Regions from separate parts of the Homo sapiens genome. Here region 2 is linked to region 1. The links are contacts of gene promoters, found by promoter capture Hi-C in blood cells and fetal thymus (Javierre and others, 2016). All regions are on one chromosome and are shown on one strand. Each heading gives the region's core, a stretch centred on a gene start or on the middle of the fragment in contact. The rest is flanking DNA. Distances are from core to core; before and after follow the strand shown.

Region 1 (7,701 bases), core at 1,741-4,240:
TTAGTTGCCTCATAGTTCTGCAGGCTGTACAGGAATAATTGCTAGGGAGGCCTCAAGTAACTTTCAATCACTGCAGAAGGGGAAACAGGTGTGCCTTACATGACCAGAGCAGGAGGACGAGACAGAAGAGGGAGGTGCTACACACTTTTAAACAACCAATCTCTTGAGAACTCACTCACTATCAGGAGAACAGCAAGAGGGCAATCTACCCCCATGATCCAATCATCTCCCACGAGGCCCCTCCTCCAACACTGGGGATTTCAATTTGACATGAGATTTGGGCCAGGACGCAAATCCAACCATGTCATAGCCTAATGGGAAGTACTGTTGGGAGACTGGTGGGCAGGAAGAAGGGAGAAGCCATAGTACTTCCCTTTCTTCCCTCTCTGCCATGGGTATTATTTCTGGCTTTGATTGGCTTTGCTCCATGGGAAATACTCTTGCTAGACAAGCCAATGGTGGTTCTAACTTTTCCTAGATGACCATAGCCCCTGGGCCCTACTAATACAACCTTCTCCATTTGTCCCTACAATTTAACAATGGTAGTGGCTTCCTATTGGTACTAATCTCTAGATTACCTCTTTGTTCCTGCTTGGTTTTTTACTTCTCCCATCATCTATGTAACAACTTTTTTCTTGTATAAAATTGCTTCTGCTTTAAAAAGTTAGAAATAATTTTGTTTTGCTCATTGAAATGCACACACACACTTTTGCAGCCAGTAAAAACAACGAAGAAAAGGCTGTACCTGTATAATCATATACTAAAAAAGAAATGTTCCTGGTAAGTTATTGACTCCAAGAAGGAACTTGCTGTATCTTATGTTTGATAAGGTCCATTGCAAAATCGAACCATTATGTGTATATAGAAACGTATTTGTATAGTAATAATGATAATAACTATCCCTTTTAGGAAAAAACAGATATGGCAAAAAAAAAAAAAAAAAAAAACCCCACCAAGAGGATATGTTATCCCTATGAAGTGAAGTGCAAGGTGTGCATATATTGAGAAGAAAGGATGCTGCCACTTTTGACTTTATATACAGCTATATTGTTTGTATTTTTTTCTCTTGTATCACATTGTTAATTTCCAAAATTGTTTTGAAAGCAGGTAATAAAACAGTATGCCTACTATGATCATTTTTATTAAATTTTTTTTTGTTTTTGTGACAGAGTCTTGCTCTGTCCCCCAGCCTGGAGTGCAATGGCAAAATCTCCACTCTCTGCAACCTCCACCTCTTGGGTTCAAGCAATTCTCCTGCCTCAGCCTCCCGAATAGCTGGGACTACAGGTGCCCATCACCACACCCAGCTAATTTTTGTATTTTTAGTAGACACGGGGTTTTGCCATGTTGGCCAGGCTGATCTCAAACACCTGACCTCAGGTGATCAGCCCGTCTCGGCCTCCCAAAGTACTGGCTGGGATTACAGGTGTGAGCCACCACGCCCAGACACCTTTATTAAAAATTAATGTCCATATGTACTTATTGGTAATGGGAATGGTCTGAAAGGACAGTCAATTCTGCTATAACATGTGCTTTGAGATTAAATTTGTTCCAATGTGATTAATATACCAGAAAATAATTTGAGCATACTGCCTATGCTCATGTGTGATTTTATTTTCAGTGAAAAAGAGTAGTTGAACTTTAAAAAACTGAACTGAAAAACAGAAAGGCTTAGGATGCACAAAATACACCCACCACTTATAGTAACACCCTCACTTCACCTGTGTGTTGTGAGCCTTGACACCCATATGTCATATTGCAACTTTCTGTCTGATTTCAGATAACCCACATTTCAACAAGCTAAAGTAACTTGCAGTTTGCAAATCTTCCAATGCCTAATTTCCAAAACAAGTTTCAGGTCTTTTTCAAGGTAAAGCATCATATTTATTTTAGTATTTATGTATATCTTAACCATGTAACGTGTGAAAGTGTGCTACCATTTTTATTAGGCTCTCATCCTTTTTTTCTTGTTCCTTGTGGGTCATTATGAAGTTTTTGAGTATTTTACCCTAATCACATTTTTTCTCACAAGTCCCGTGGTTTTTATTGCACAATTTTGTACAGTATAGTGATTTTTAGGAATGGATATATCACATTATAGCAAAACTGACCATACATGTACCAAAATGTTAATAGCGTTTTGGGCAGCTTATTATTGCTTATCTATAGTTTCTATATTTTTCTAAAACAATCGTGCATTGATACTTTAATTAGATCTATGTAAACATCTTTAAATGATGAAATGGCAGCTAAAGGATGATTACAGCTGTTTTGGGTAAAGAGCTGAGGCTATTCTGGCAAGCTCCACATATTCACTGGTAATGTAATAAATTAAGTGCCTTCTAATCTACTTAAAAGGTACAATCACTTAAGCTCTTTCTGTAAAACAGAAACAGGTCTCACAGCAACATCTTGGCACCTTCTTTAATCAGAAAGTTCCCATAAGTACTAAGAAGAATAGAGAAGATGTGACTAGCCAATTTTCCATTAAATAATGTAGATTATGTAATAAGCCAAATGCCCCTAAACTGGTTGCAAACATTCAGAAGTGGTAATAACATGATTCAGATACAGAAATATAGATAGGCAATAAGGAGCCAGATATTCAGTGCTTACTGACTTTCAAGCTATTATTAAGTAGCTCGCCTATACACAGTCTCTGTAGGAAATAAAGAAACTACAAGCTTGAACACATTGTAAATTTCTAAATGAGGAGAAAAAAAGGTTTTTCTATGTGACTTGATGCTTGAATTTCTATCCAGTTTTTCAGAGTGAACATATACCTGCGTTATCACTTTTTTCTTTCCGAGACACTATTATGATGTTTTTTCTCTTCTTTTTTAAGTAGTAACTTGCTCCACCTACAGTCAAACTGCACTGTATGACTTTGATTTGGGTATGAGTCCTCTTTTCCCTCCCCCACATGCCCTGTTTCTGGCCCAGCGCCCACTGAACTCTGTACTTGTTCTTGATCCTTGTATTTTCCTGTCTCTCTACACAGAATCGGCTGTTGAGTGTGCTCTCAGTGGAGCTTTGGTTTTAGCTGTTCTCTGACAAAGAGCTTGTTCTGAGCTGCACATCTCGTCCTCTTTGTTCAGCCTCAGGCTTCAAGCATTGAATCCTAAATATTCTCCAGCTGGGAATCAGACAAGGGCAGAAATGAAGAACCCAGAAGCCCAGCAGGATGTTTCAGTTTCCCAGGGATTTCGCATGTTGTTTTACACGATGAAACCCAGTGAAACTTCATTCCAAACATTAGAAGAGGTGCCTGATTATGTAAAAAAGGTGAGACTTTATTGGAAGAGGCTACTCTTATTCTTGCTGCTTTCTTAATAAATGGTAAGGTCAATCTCCTTAGGGTTTTGTTCACTTTCATTATTCAAATGATTACATTCTAATAATAATAATTCAGTTTCTTAAAGGCGTGAAGCAAAAGTAGAATTTCCACTTGAATTTTCTTACAATCCATAGCCATCTTCACCTGTAAATTCCCTCTTTTATATGTCACTCCAGAATATGACAAAAACAAAAGTTTAAAGTTTTCCTGGACTCCATGGCATTGTAAATGTAGCTATTGGAAGCTCAATGACAAATAGTTACACCACATCAGTAAACTTTGTAACAATTTCATTTTTAAATCTTTCACTTGTCCACCCCTTCCAGGGAAACTATTTCCTCTTTCATTTGGTAGAGTAGTTCAGCAGAATGAAGGATATGCAGCTTGACCAGGTCCAGCTCTGACTTCCTAAGTTTGAATTTGACCCAAGTTTTCTTTGAAACTCTGAAGTGCTCAGAGGCACATTTCACTTCTGGTTCCTGGCTATGATTGGAAGTGGAAATATCCAGAATTAGAACTTGAATACTGAAGTTCCCCACCCTATCAAAGTTATTCCTACAACACTCACTAGTTCATGGCAGAAATAGAAAAAAAATGACATCATAGAATATGTTATTGAGAGTTCAGTTTAGAAAGCTTCAAAACTCATGATTAGCTTCCAAATGAGTAAAATCCGTATCTTTTTCAAGATTAGATATTACACTTTCTTTCTGAGTTTTTAAGTTAAAAAAAGTGGCACTGATATCTTCATAAATTATTATTGTTTATACTGCAATATCAAACCAAATTCAATGCTCCATCACCAATAGTGGAGCTTTCAAAACATCTCTTATTATGTGAAACAAAAATCAAAACCAAATGAATAAAATCTGAATCATGTTTTAAGCAAACATGTAAAATTACCATATTCTCTAAAATTCTAAGCAGAAAATTGTCTCTACTCTTTGAATTTCATCATTAGAAATAGTTCTGGTAAGTCTAATATGAAAAATTAGAATTATGTGCATCTTTAAGGAAAGCCTCTTGAAGTGGGTCTAAATTATACATGTAGAGACAATAGACCTCTAATTATCTACCTTATTCTAAATGTATTTTTTAAACTAATTTGGAAGATGTTCCTCTTAATCTTATAATATTATAATTATCGTGGTTATATCTATGATTACATTTCATATTCAAATTGGATGATAGAATTTGAGCACATGTTTAGTGTATGTCTAAAATAATTAGACTTCTTTACCACTGTGTAGGAAGTAATCCTCTAAAATGAGTGTCTACCATCTCCTGCAGGGCTTCCCAAATCTGGGCCTTTCAATTCTGAAATGACTAATCAGGAAATGTAAAATAATTTCATATGGAACATAATAGCATCTCTTTTCTGCAACTTCCTTTCCAGGCAACTCCATTTTTCATTTCTTTGATGCTGCTTGAACTTGTTGTCAGCTGGATTCTCAAAGGAAAGCCACCAGGTCGCCTGGATGATGCTTTAACGTCAATCTCAGCTGGTGTTCTGTCTCGACTTCCAAGGTGAGTTAGATGGTCAACAACGCTGAGCATAAAAACTGAAATTGCCTAAGTATGAGGGGCAAAGGAACCCAATGCATGGGAGAATTAGTTTATTTACACAAATTTTCCCAAAAAATTCAGTTCATGTCATTATTTAAAATTTTGATATTTTGTTCTTCATTGATTTTTTGCACTTATTTAAAAAATCACCGCAAACATTATTTATCTTGACTCTGTTGATATCCCTTTGAAATGAGTGCTTCATTTGCCTTATTGAGGTTCCAACTCTGAGTTATGGTCTGGTTCTCTATTAAAATTGTGTTTTGTCTCTTCCAGCTTCAGAAAGAATAGCTGTCTCGGGTGTAGCCATTCCCTAGAGCAGGTCACACAAATCTCTGAATAACTACAATAGTTTGCTAATTGGTGTCTGGCTCTAGTACAACCCCGTTTGCAGCCAAGCATTTCCATAATATGAATCCAGTGGAAACCCTTCACTGGCTCTCTATTGCCTCAAGTGTAAGGTAAAAATCCCTGTCTTGAACTATAGAGAACATTGTTTCTCTGGCTTTGCTTTTGGATCGTCCACTCTCCTGTCTATTTGTCATGTTTATCCTGTCATGCTTTACTACTTGCCATTGTCCACATGCCACAGGCACTTCCCTCTGCCTGGAAAGCCATCCAGGCCAATTCAGATTCATTCATTAGGTCTAAGCATAGACATCACACTCTTCAGCAAGCTTTATCTGTTTTCCAACCTTATGTTAGGCATTCCTGCATTCCTACACTACAGTCCCATGGAATTGTGTGCTTATCCCAGATCTAGAATTATCACATGACATGATGCTTACCTGTTTTTCTCTCAGCCCTTCCTGCTAGCTTGCACACAACTTGAGAGCAAGAGGTGTATGTTCTTAATAGTTTTAGCTCCTGTGCCTGGAATGATGTCTGTTGCATGTAGTTTCCCCAAAAGCAGTAATATTCCTGTAACATTATGTTGATGATAAAATTAGATGATATTGGGACTCAATAATAGTAAGATATAAATGACCTACTATTTTTTAGAAAGAGTACATTATAATGTGTGAAGAGGAAAGACCAATAAATGGAAGTCATCTTCAACACGTGAGGGCTTACCAAAGAGGCAGAGGGTGAGGAAAGATTCCCTTAGAAGTCTGTGCTTTGAGCTGCTGATGAATGTTCTCATTCCAGCTTCCCACCCATTTCTTCTTGTCCTGTTTTAAGAGCTTTACTTCTGACTGGTGCTCATTGCTTTGGAATGTTTCTATTAACCGCCCAGTGGGAAGCTAAGGTGGATTTTTAAAAAATAACATTAAAACTTTAAATATCTAAAAAAGGTGGAATAATTTCATATATTACATAAAATAGTTTAAATAAAAGTAAACTTAAAAGTAAAATTTTTTCAATAAGTGTTTGAGAAAAGTGCATTATTAGGTATATAGTAGAAGTAATATTAATAATATTTACTCTGAAAAACTACTTGTAATTGTTGCATTTTGCAGTTGAAATCAGAAGAAGATAATGTCTCCAGAAATTTGCAGCTAATTCCCAGATTATCATGAATAAGAATTTACAATTATAGATAATTTCCTTTATTATAATACTTGTCCCCTTTAAGCAGAAATGAACAAGAAAAACATTCAACATGCCCAAGGGTATATAGATTTAGATGTAGATTTAGTTATTTAAAAATACCCAGTTGGTTAATTTAGCTCATTCTCAGAAAGTTAAGTGTATAGGTTATGGAAATCAGATTATTGATAAACTATAAACGTCACCCAATAACTGAAAATTGCCCTGTATATACGATTATGGGTCATATATTTTACTGAATTGGAATGCATTTGTTAAGCATTTTGACAATGAATTTGACAGCAAATTGAATGAACTCTTCAGAATTTTTTTTTTTACCTTTTAAAGTTTGATTTTGTTCCAAATGAAATTAGATTGTTCTCTTATCATAACATTGTAAGTACCAGAAATACAAACTGTATCCTCAATACAATATTTTTGCTTAGCAGTGTTATTTTAAAAAGGTACAGAGTTATAACAGGAAAACAAGAATAAAAGAGATATTTTTACAAAAAATACACCCCAAAAAGCAGAGAGAAAGGGGAAAGGGGGGAGAGAGAGAGAGAGAGAGAGAAGGAAAAAAAGAAACCAAAACAAACCAGTCCTTCAGGGATAGAACATGAGGTTCTTTTCCTTCACCCACTACTCATAACAGTCCTTAAACTAACACAAACTGTTAACTCTGGTGCCCTTTGAGAGAAAGGTAAAAGGTTATGAACTTTAATTTGGAGAATATTTTTCTAAAGTATTTTAAATGAGAATAGCAAATTACTCCTTTCTTCCTTGTAGATGTAAAGAACAATTCTAAATTATGAAATGTGGATTTTTAAAAAGTTTTTCAAGGAATTTTCTCTTTTACAGCCTTGTCTGAAAGATCCCAGTAAAGCAAATTATCTGAAAATGCATTTTTTTGTTTTGTTATATAAAACTATGGTGAAAAATATTTTTATTTTATTTTTTGCTATTAAAAAAAAATCCCAAACCCAGATATAAACAGAAAAGGAAAAGCGAGCCTGTGGATCCATTCCTCTCAATCCCCTTTCAGAAAAAAAAAGGAAGAATTTGACATCAATTCTTAAAACAATATTTCAGTTGAAGCCACAGCATCAAGGGGAATCCCTGTGCAAATCATTAACAGCTGAGGGTTAGATTAACACGGCAATGATCGGATCCTCTCCCAGGGACTAATTTCATTTTCTACACTAGCAACAGGGGCTTGCCACGTCCTTCAAATAGGTGATTGCAAGACAAATGGTAGTATGCCTTTT
Region 2 (7,701 bases), core at 2,822-5,321, 1.0 Mb before region 1:
AGGGTCCTTACGATTTCGGTCAAGCAGCTCCACTCCTGGAAGGTGGTAGATGATATATAAACGATACAGGTTATATTGGCACAAAGGATTTTGGTATAGACCTGCAAATGAAGAATCCAAAATAAAAATGTCAGATTTCAAAATCAGTTTCACTTATCACTTATAAAATACAAAAAATTAAGAGATTCGTATAAAACATAAGAACTTGTAAAGCTCTTCTCCATATCAAGCAATAGACCCATTAAACCTTTACTTAGAGCACCAGTTAATTTTTCTATCTGTTAAATTCATTCATTCAACAAATATTTACCAAGTGCTTACTATCCACTAGGAACTGTGCTAAGGGCTATGATCAAATCATTGACCCAAGTCTGCAACAAATGAGGGAAATTTTTAACATGTCCATAAATAAGTTAGTAAATGAAGAACTAGATATCAGCTCTATTGGAGTCTTGAGGCTACTTTTTATTAAAATATCACTTGGTACTCTTCTTTCAGTCTCCAAGTTCACAAGGGTGCATGTGTGAAGATAGGCAGAGACACAACACCCGGCTCTAATAGAACTTACTTCCTCCACACCATTGCTCATAGTTCAGAATGTGTCAATAGTAGCTTCAGATCTCAGCAGGACCAGAGCTGAGCAGAAGTGGCTCTTGCATCTTGTCTACCTCTGGCCAGGCACGTGCAGTTCTGAGATCCTGGTGTGCAGGTGCTAGGATGTGTGATAAACCGCACTTCCTAATGCAGTGGTTGGAAGAAGGGGGCATGTGGATGCAGAAGCAGCCCTGGCACTTTTGACATCATATCCCTTGGGAATCAGCACATAGTTATGTTTTTAAACATCCTCAACTAGAAGTTGTGAGGGCTTTATTTTTAAAAAAAGATATTTTCCCTATTCATCCTAGATGATAATAAACATATTTTTTCAATACAATGTGAAATAAAACTTTAATGATTTTCAGTTGGGCATTTTTTTTTTTTTTTGACAGAGTCTTGTTCTTGTTGCCAGGCTGGAGCGCAATGGCATGATCTTGCTCACTGCAACCTCTGCCTCCCGGGTTCAAGCAATTGTCCTGATTCAGCCTCCTGAGTAGCTGGGATTACAGGCGCCTGCCACCACGCTTGGCTAATTTTTGTATTTTTAGTAGAGACGGAGTTTCGCCATGTTGGCAAGGCTGGTCTCGAACTGCTGACCTCGTGATCCGCCCACCTTGGCCTCCCAAAATACAGGCATCAGCCACCGCACCTGGCCAGTAATCTTTAGTTATTCGGATTCCACCTACCTACATGCAATTTCTAGGAAATTCTTCTGAAAATACACCTAATAAGGAGAACCACTAGATGGCAGTAGTAGAAAGAGCTCCAGCTACCGCACAACTCCTTCACTCAATAAAATGAAGCTCACTTAATGTACATGTGAAATTTAAGAGTACTGTTGTAGACTATTCATAAAATACAGGTTTGATAAAGGCATGAAAATAGTAAGCATTAGAAACTCGGAAAAAACTGATTAATATTTCTAAAGAGCAGTTTGTAACATAAAGAAGATTGGGGTAGGTGCATGCTTAAAAGATAACAAGCTAGATAAAAACTAAAAAAAAAAAATCAATCATCTGGATGTTTTCTCTGTAGTAATAAAGCATTCTGATATTTGTTGTATAAACACAACTTTTTCTGGCTAATAAAAGCGTTATATATAGCTATTCCCTGTGGAAAACGCGAGCTTTAGAGGGACATAAAGCAGGCAATGGAAGACACCTGGTACATAATAAACAAAAGTTACAGGAGTGAGGAAAGGCATACAGGAAAATGTAGAGCCAGGAGCCACAAAGAAATTTAAAAGAAAGGAAATATGTAAGTAATGGAGAAAATGAGAAGAAAAATAAAACTTTTTTTTTTTCAAGATTTCTTAAATGACAGAAAATGGTCTGAATTTTATTCTTGAAAGAGAAGGATTTTAAAGTGGTAACAAATAATTATAACTGCAGGACAGGGAATAGAACAGATGTATATTAAACCACTAATAAAAGAGCCATTGGGATCATGAATTGTAGTTCGAGCCAGAGAAAGTAAAGAAAAGGACCCTCTTCAAGGATATAAAAGCAAAACACAATTGTTTCTAATGAGAACTCAGAAGGAAGAAAAAGTCACAGATGCTTTAGTACAGAAGTCTGCTTTGTGGTTACTGTCTTGGGGAATCACATCTGACACCTCATAACCCTGTTATACATTATAGCATCTGGAAGTAGAGTCTGCCTTTACATATGACGTTAATGGAAAATATACCAACATCTTTCAATGACGTTTTCTCTAGGTGTACCCTTCGTCTTCTCTTTCCCCTCTGAGGACATTACTATCCATTTCATTTCATTTCTTGGGTTTTTCTGCTAATCCTTGGTTAAGTAACTTCTATATGGAAATTTAAAAACTAGCTTCAGCTGAATAAAACACCAAACTTGGATTTACTACTGTTACATTACTTATTAGCAACATATTGATACTAAAAACTCTATGGACTTGTGGTTGACCATTCATCTCATCCTAAAGTAAAAACTGAATGACACGAAATCAGAAAACTGAACTGTTAGCCCATCCTCTGCTTAAATTAACTTTAAAAATTGAGTTAAATAACTTGACAGGCATTTCATCATTATTATTCACTGTTTCCTATCTCTTAAATTTTAGAAGAAGCAATCATATTTTTAACTCTATTTTTTCCTTCTATACTATTAAACATTTAACATTTTGGATTTATGAGTTTTGGATTGATGCTGCTAAAATCAACATAAATTAAATGTCTAAGATGTGAAATCAGTTTCCTGTTTCTGAATGTTCTGAAAGCCTTCTATGATGTATGGGCACATTCTTTTAGAAACCATGAAGAGAAATTGCTTACACTTTCACTTTCAATAGGTTAATACTATTTAATCCACCTTCCCTCTAGGCTACTTACAGAGTATACCTCAGTGGCGCCAGCACTGTCTTGCTTATCTTAATTTGGGATTCTGAGTCTAAGCAATTTACATTTACCCAATGATATATCAAAATGTCTCTACTACCTTACCGCACAAGCTTGGCTTACAGGAGTCACGTGTATGAAGCTACTTATTATCGAGACAGAAGAGGAAAAAAAAAAGCCATCTAAATAATTGGCTCCAGTTATTTTTTTGTAAACTTTTAAAGCAGAATTTAAAATCATTATTTAAATGAACCCCAATGTTTTTAAGGCTGCCTTCGAAGAAAGTTGATGTAATTAATAAGAGACCAACATCCCAATTTTAATATATGGGAAAAAGAAAATGACATGGAGAAGTTAAAAGCCTATAGAGAACGGCCTGTGGAAGGAAGTTCAGCTGTCAATAATCAGATAGGAGGATTGTGAGGCTCCGGGTCAAGGTTACTTAGTAAGGTCAGCATCTCCATTGTTAATCACCATCTTGTTTTAACTAAAAATCTGGTGGCCACCACACACCATGTGCTTTTTACTGAATATGGAAATCACCCCTGATTGTAAAAGGCAAACTACGATAAAGCAGAGGATCGAGAGAGGAGGGATCAGAATATCCTCTTTTTCAGGACAAACAGTGGTGAAAAACACTGTTGGTTCTTTTCCTTTGGTGAATTGTTTTGTCTTTTGGGAGGGGTGGTCCCACCTGGAAGGGCATTATAGGAAAAGAGGCTCAAAGGAAGGGACCCTGGAGATCCTAGTCCCTCCCCGTATCCCAGAATCCCTCTGCTCCCCTGGCTTTTTGCCATGGGCAGTGGATTGGGGCCACTGCTGAAGACAACGGCAGGAAGTGTTTAAAGGCAATACCTGTGGAAACATGGAGACCCTCTCTCGAAAGGAGGAACTCCCTGTTCCCAAGGCTGATTCCTGGAAGCTCCGGTAGGAAGCAGGTCTTAACAATTATGGCATGCAGGAGTCTTAAGCATACTTTCCAACAGTGGAGTTTAATAAAACAGAAAATTAGAAAGAAACGAGAAAACTGAAGGTTTAGAACAGGAGAGTGGATTAAGCATTTTGTTGCTGCGGCTTTTGGTGGCGGTGGTTTTTTTCCCTTAGTACTGGAAAGGGGGCAGGAGTTAATAAAAGCCATCAGCCACAAAGTGGGTCTTTGACACATGTGGATTCTGATTTAGAAAGAGTTTGGAGGAGGGAAGGGAAGAGGAAAACTGAGCTAGAAAGAGAGGGTGTGGAAAGGTAGACTGCCTAGAGAGAAGAGGTGGGGCCCCCTGACTCTGCCTGAAGACAGGAATTCCAGTTCCCAGGACCTCACACTCTGCAGCTGGTTTAGGCCTCCCTGAAGCTCTCAGCCATGCGTCTCCTAGGCAGTCCTTGGCAATTCTCCTCATAAATGCCAATGGAAGGTGCGATGCTGAGAATGGATTAGCGTTTTGCCCTTCAGGCTATTTTCTCACCCTCTGAAGAACTTGTAATTTAAGTGGAATAATAACACTTTATAATTTTATATGGATTTACAACTTAAAAAGACAAAAATGACTACATTTGAAAATACATAGAGTTCTCATTTTAGTTTATCAGCTAAAGCTAATCTGTGATTGCAAATGAGGCTCATAGAAACTTAATCTGAGGACATGACTGCACAAATAACGTTAGTTGTCTAATAAATACAAACTATTTTTCATACAATATCTTTAACCAAAATGGAACATGAGTTCAAAATGTGAATTTTTAGAAAATGCTTTTTGTTTTTTGTAATTGGACATAGCATTTTCTCCATTTCAAACAAATGACCCCACAACAAGATTCTCAACTGGAAAGTTATAGTTATGTAACTTGAAATACGTCACTGTGATTTTAAGTAGTGGTCGTAAACTATTGTGACTGGTAATGATATGGACATTGTACTACCAGGCTGGTATTTAAAAACTAGAAAATTCCCACTCCTCATGCCTGGCACAATTCTACACTCACATACACCCTTGACAAGCAGGGCATGGGCTGGATTTCAGGATCCATTCAGTCCTGGGCTGGGCACCTTTGTTTAGGGTATAACCTTATTTATTACTATGGGCATAACTCTGTTTATTACTGTGGGAGTAAGCTTGTTTACCACTCTCCAAATGTTGTTTTATAACAAGTTTCCTTAAATTATAGAGTTTTTAAAGTAGCAAATTAAATCATTTTGCATTAGACCCCTTCGACTCTAAGAAATATTTAGGCTGAGTGTTACTAATTTGTAAGCCCTATATAGGTATAGACTGGGTCTTTCTTGTTCAAATTTGAGTCCTATTATCTAGAATAGTGTCATGTAGTGAATGTGTGATAAACATTTATTAAATGAATGAATGAATAGATTATAAATATTTATTGAATGAATGAATAAATAAATGATAAGTAAAACAAGGCATGAGTTTATGTTTCAACACTCCTTAGGAGTTTGGTTAAATCTCTGAGCTTTTCATTTCCATGATTAAAGGGAGTAATTCTAATCACATCATAGGATGCTGTAAAGATTTAAATGCGACTATAATAAATCATTTTTTTAACAGGAAAGACATTCAAACATATTACTATATGATTATTATTTAAAATATCGTTTTATTGAGTCTATTAGCAGAATTTCGAGACTGGATGCAATTTATTTCATTATCTGATTTACATAATCCACAATAAAACAATTTTTTTCTTTTTTTAGAATTTCAATTTTTGTTGTTGCTTCAAAATAACATTAATGGTGAGAAACGTTTTCTTAAAAAAAAAAAACAGAGTTATCTTAATGTTTGAAGCAACCCTGAGAGGTAGCTATCAGCCCATTTTATAGAAAAACAAAGGTAAGTGTTCTAGGTCTAGCATAACTAGTCTTTTAATTATAGCAGCATTTTTCCAGCAGACAGGGGCCAGGTGACTCAAATATGCAGGCCAATTCTTTCACAGAAGATCCAAAAGCTGTGAAAAAAACTCCTGACAGCAGGCAGCCTTCTCACGTCTCCAAAATAAGCATAAAATTGCCATGAACTTGGTGTAATTTTGTGATTTTAATACTTGGGTTTAAAGAATCTAACTATAACAAATGAATCATTTTCCCTCAGTACAGTAGATATAACTGATAACACTAACAATATATGGAAACCTTAGTAACTCTCTGTACATTTATCTGATTAGAACTTTCACCATCAATACTAGCTTACAACTGTTCAAAACACTGTCTCAGGCAATTCTGAGAAATGAATAGAAAAGGAATTAAAAAATATATCTATTGCGTTACATTATTATAAAGAGGTCTCTAAACTCTAAAGTCTGAAAACCTACTCGTTGATCTGTAGGTCTTTTACCTCAGTACACCCAGAATCCTTTATCTTGTATTGTGGTTGTATACATGTTTATTTACCCTTCAAGACCATAAGTTTATTGAGAGTAGGAGTGGTGTATTATTTATTTATTTTTGACTCATCTCACACTTCTTTCCAATAGGTTAGTTCCTTACTGGGTGTGATTCAATATATATGAATAAAGTTTGCTGGGCCTCCAGTTGAAAGCTTAAAAAGTCTTTTAGTTTTTTTTTTTTGGTATCAGCTTTATTAATATACTTTATGTATCACACTGTTCACCCAGCTTAAACATATGATTTGTGTGTTTGTGGTTTATTCACAAAGTTATGCAACTTATCACCACAGTCAATTTTAGTATGTTTTATCACCCCCAAAATAACCCCACACCCTTTACTCTCTAGCTGTCACAACTCCCAGTTCCTTGGCCGTTGGCAACACTCATCTATTTAAAAACAGTTACCTCTCGGTGTTGCTGTCCCTATAGATGTGCCTACTTGGACACTTACATAAATGGAATCATATGTGTTAAAACTTACTTTTGAGATAAAACCAAAAACAAATTTAAACATGTAAATCCTCTTGCTACTTTTGTCATTTTCATTAGCCATGTGATAGATAGCATTTCACAAACAAAAATTTTTCTATCTGTTGTTTTTTCAAAAGCGTATCTTAAAAGACAATAAGATCTAGCCTTATTTTCAGGAATATCTAATTTTTTTTTTTTCTGAGACAGGGTCTTGCTCTGTTACCCAGGATAGAGTCCAGTGGCGCGATCTTGGCTCACTGCAACCTCTGCCTCCTGGGTTCAAGTGATCCTCCCGCCTCAGCCTCTCAAGTAGCTGGGATTACAGGCATACGCCACCAGGCCTGGCTAATTTTTGTATTTTTGGTAGAGGCAGGGTTTTGCCATGTTGCTCAGGCTGGTGTTGAACTCCTGGGCTCAAGTGATCCGCCCACCTCAGCCTGCCTAAGCACTGAGATTACAGGCGTGAGTCACAGTGCCCAGCCTAAATATCTTAATTATAAACATTGCCTCTCTAATTTTAAACTTGATAAATGGAAAAATGTCTTATGTTAATACTATTTTAACTTATGGCCATATAAAATTGCAAATTGTTACTTAGGATCTTCAGATTTAGCATTCCCTTTAATTCCTTCACTGTTGCATCAATGTTGGTTAGCTCATTGTGGTGTAGCAGGAGTATATGCAATGAAGGCAAATAATGCAGACCTAAAAAAAACAGAATATTTTTACAAGATTTTAAACATTTTTTTCAGTTTATTTTTTTATTGCAAATAAAAATAAACATTTTTAATGCTAATTAACATGCTAACTAAAAAGGAAAACATATGATAGCTGGTTAAAGAAGGAATAACTATTAATAATATATTATAAATTATTATTAA

Evidence for each region. Contacts are between HindIII fragments. The CHiCAGO score rates a contact against its expected background, and 5 or more counts as called.
Region 2: a contact is called between a fragment that was not itself captured here and the fragment with the promoter of AGMO in region 1, in 1 of 17 cell types (endothelial precursors). The highest score is 5.4, in endothelial precursors.

Annotation. Positions count from the first base shown.
Region 1 is chr7:15,557,304-15,565,004 of GRCh38, reverse strand. It overlaps AGMO (alkylglycerol monooxygenase), which reads left to right and starts at 2,990. Exons shown (of 13, transcript NM_001004320.2): 1 at 2,990-3,285; 2 at 4,734-4,864. The coding sequence starts at 3,160. LOC124901591 (a long non-coding RNA gene) reads right to left here and starts at 6,148. Exons shown (of 3, transcript XR_007060217.1): 1 at 5,978-6,148; 2 at 5,692-5,824; 3 at 4,805-4,909. The HindIII fragment of the contact is 1,289 bases long and covers 2,687-3,975 here.
Region 2 is chr7:16,558,713-16,566,413 of GRCh38, reverse strand. It overlaps LRRC72 (leucine rich repeat containing 72), which reads right to left. Exons shown (of 9, transcript NM_001195280.2): 5 at 7,415-7,525; 6 at 12-101. Among named protein-coding and RNA genes, the nearest start is that of LRRC72, 36 kb to the right of the region's middle. The HindIII fragment of the contact is 1,994 bases long and covers 3,075-5,068 here.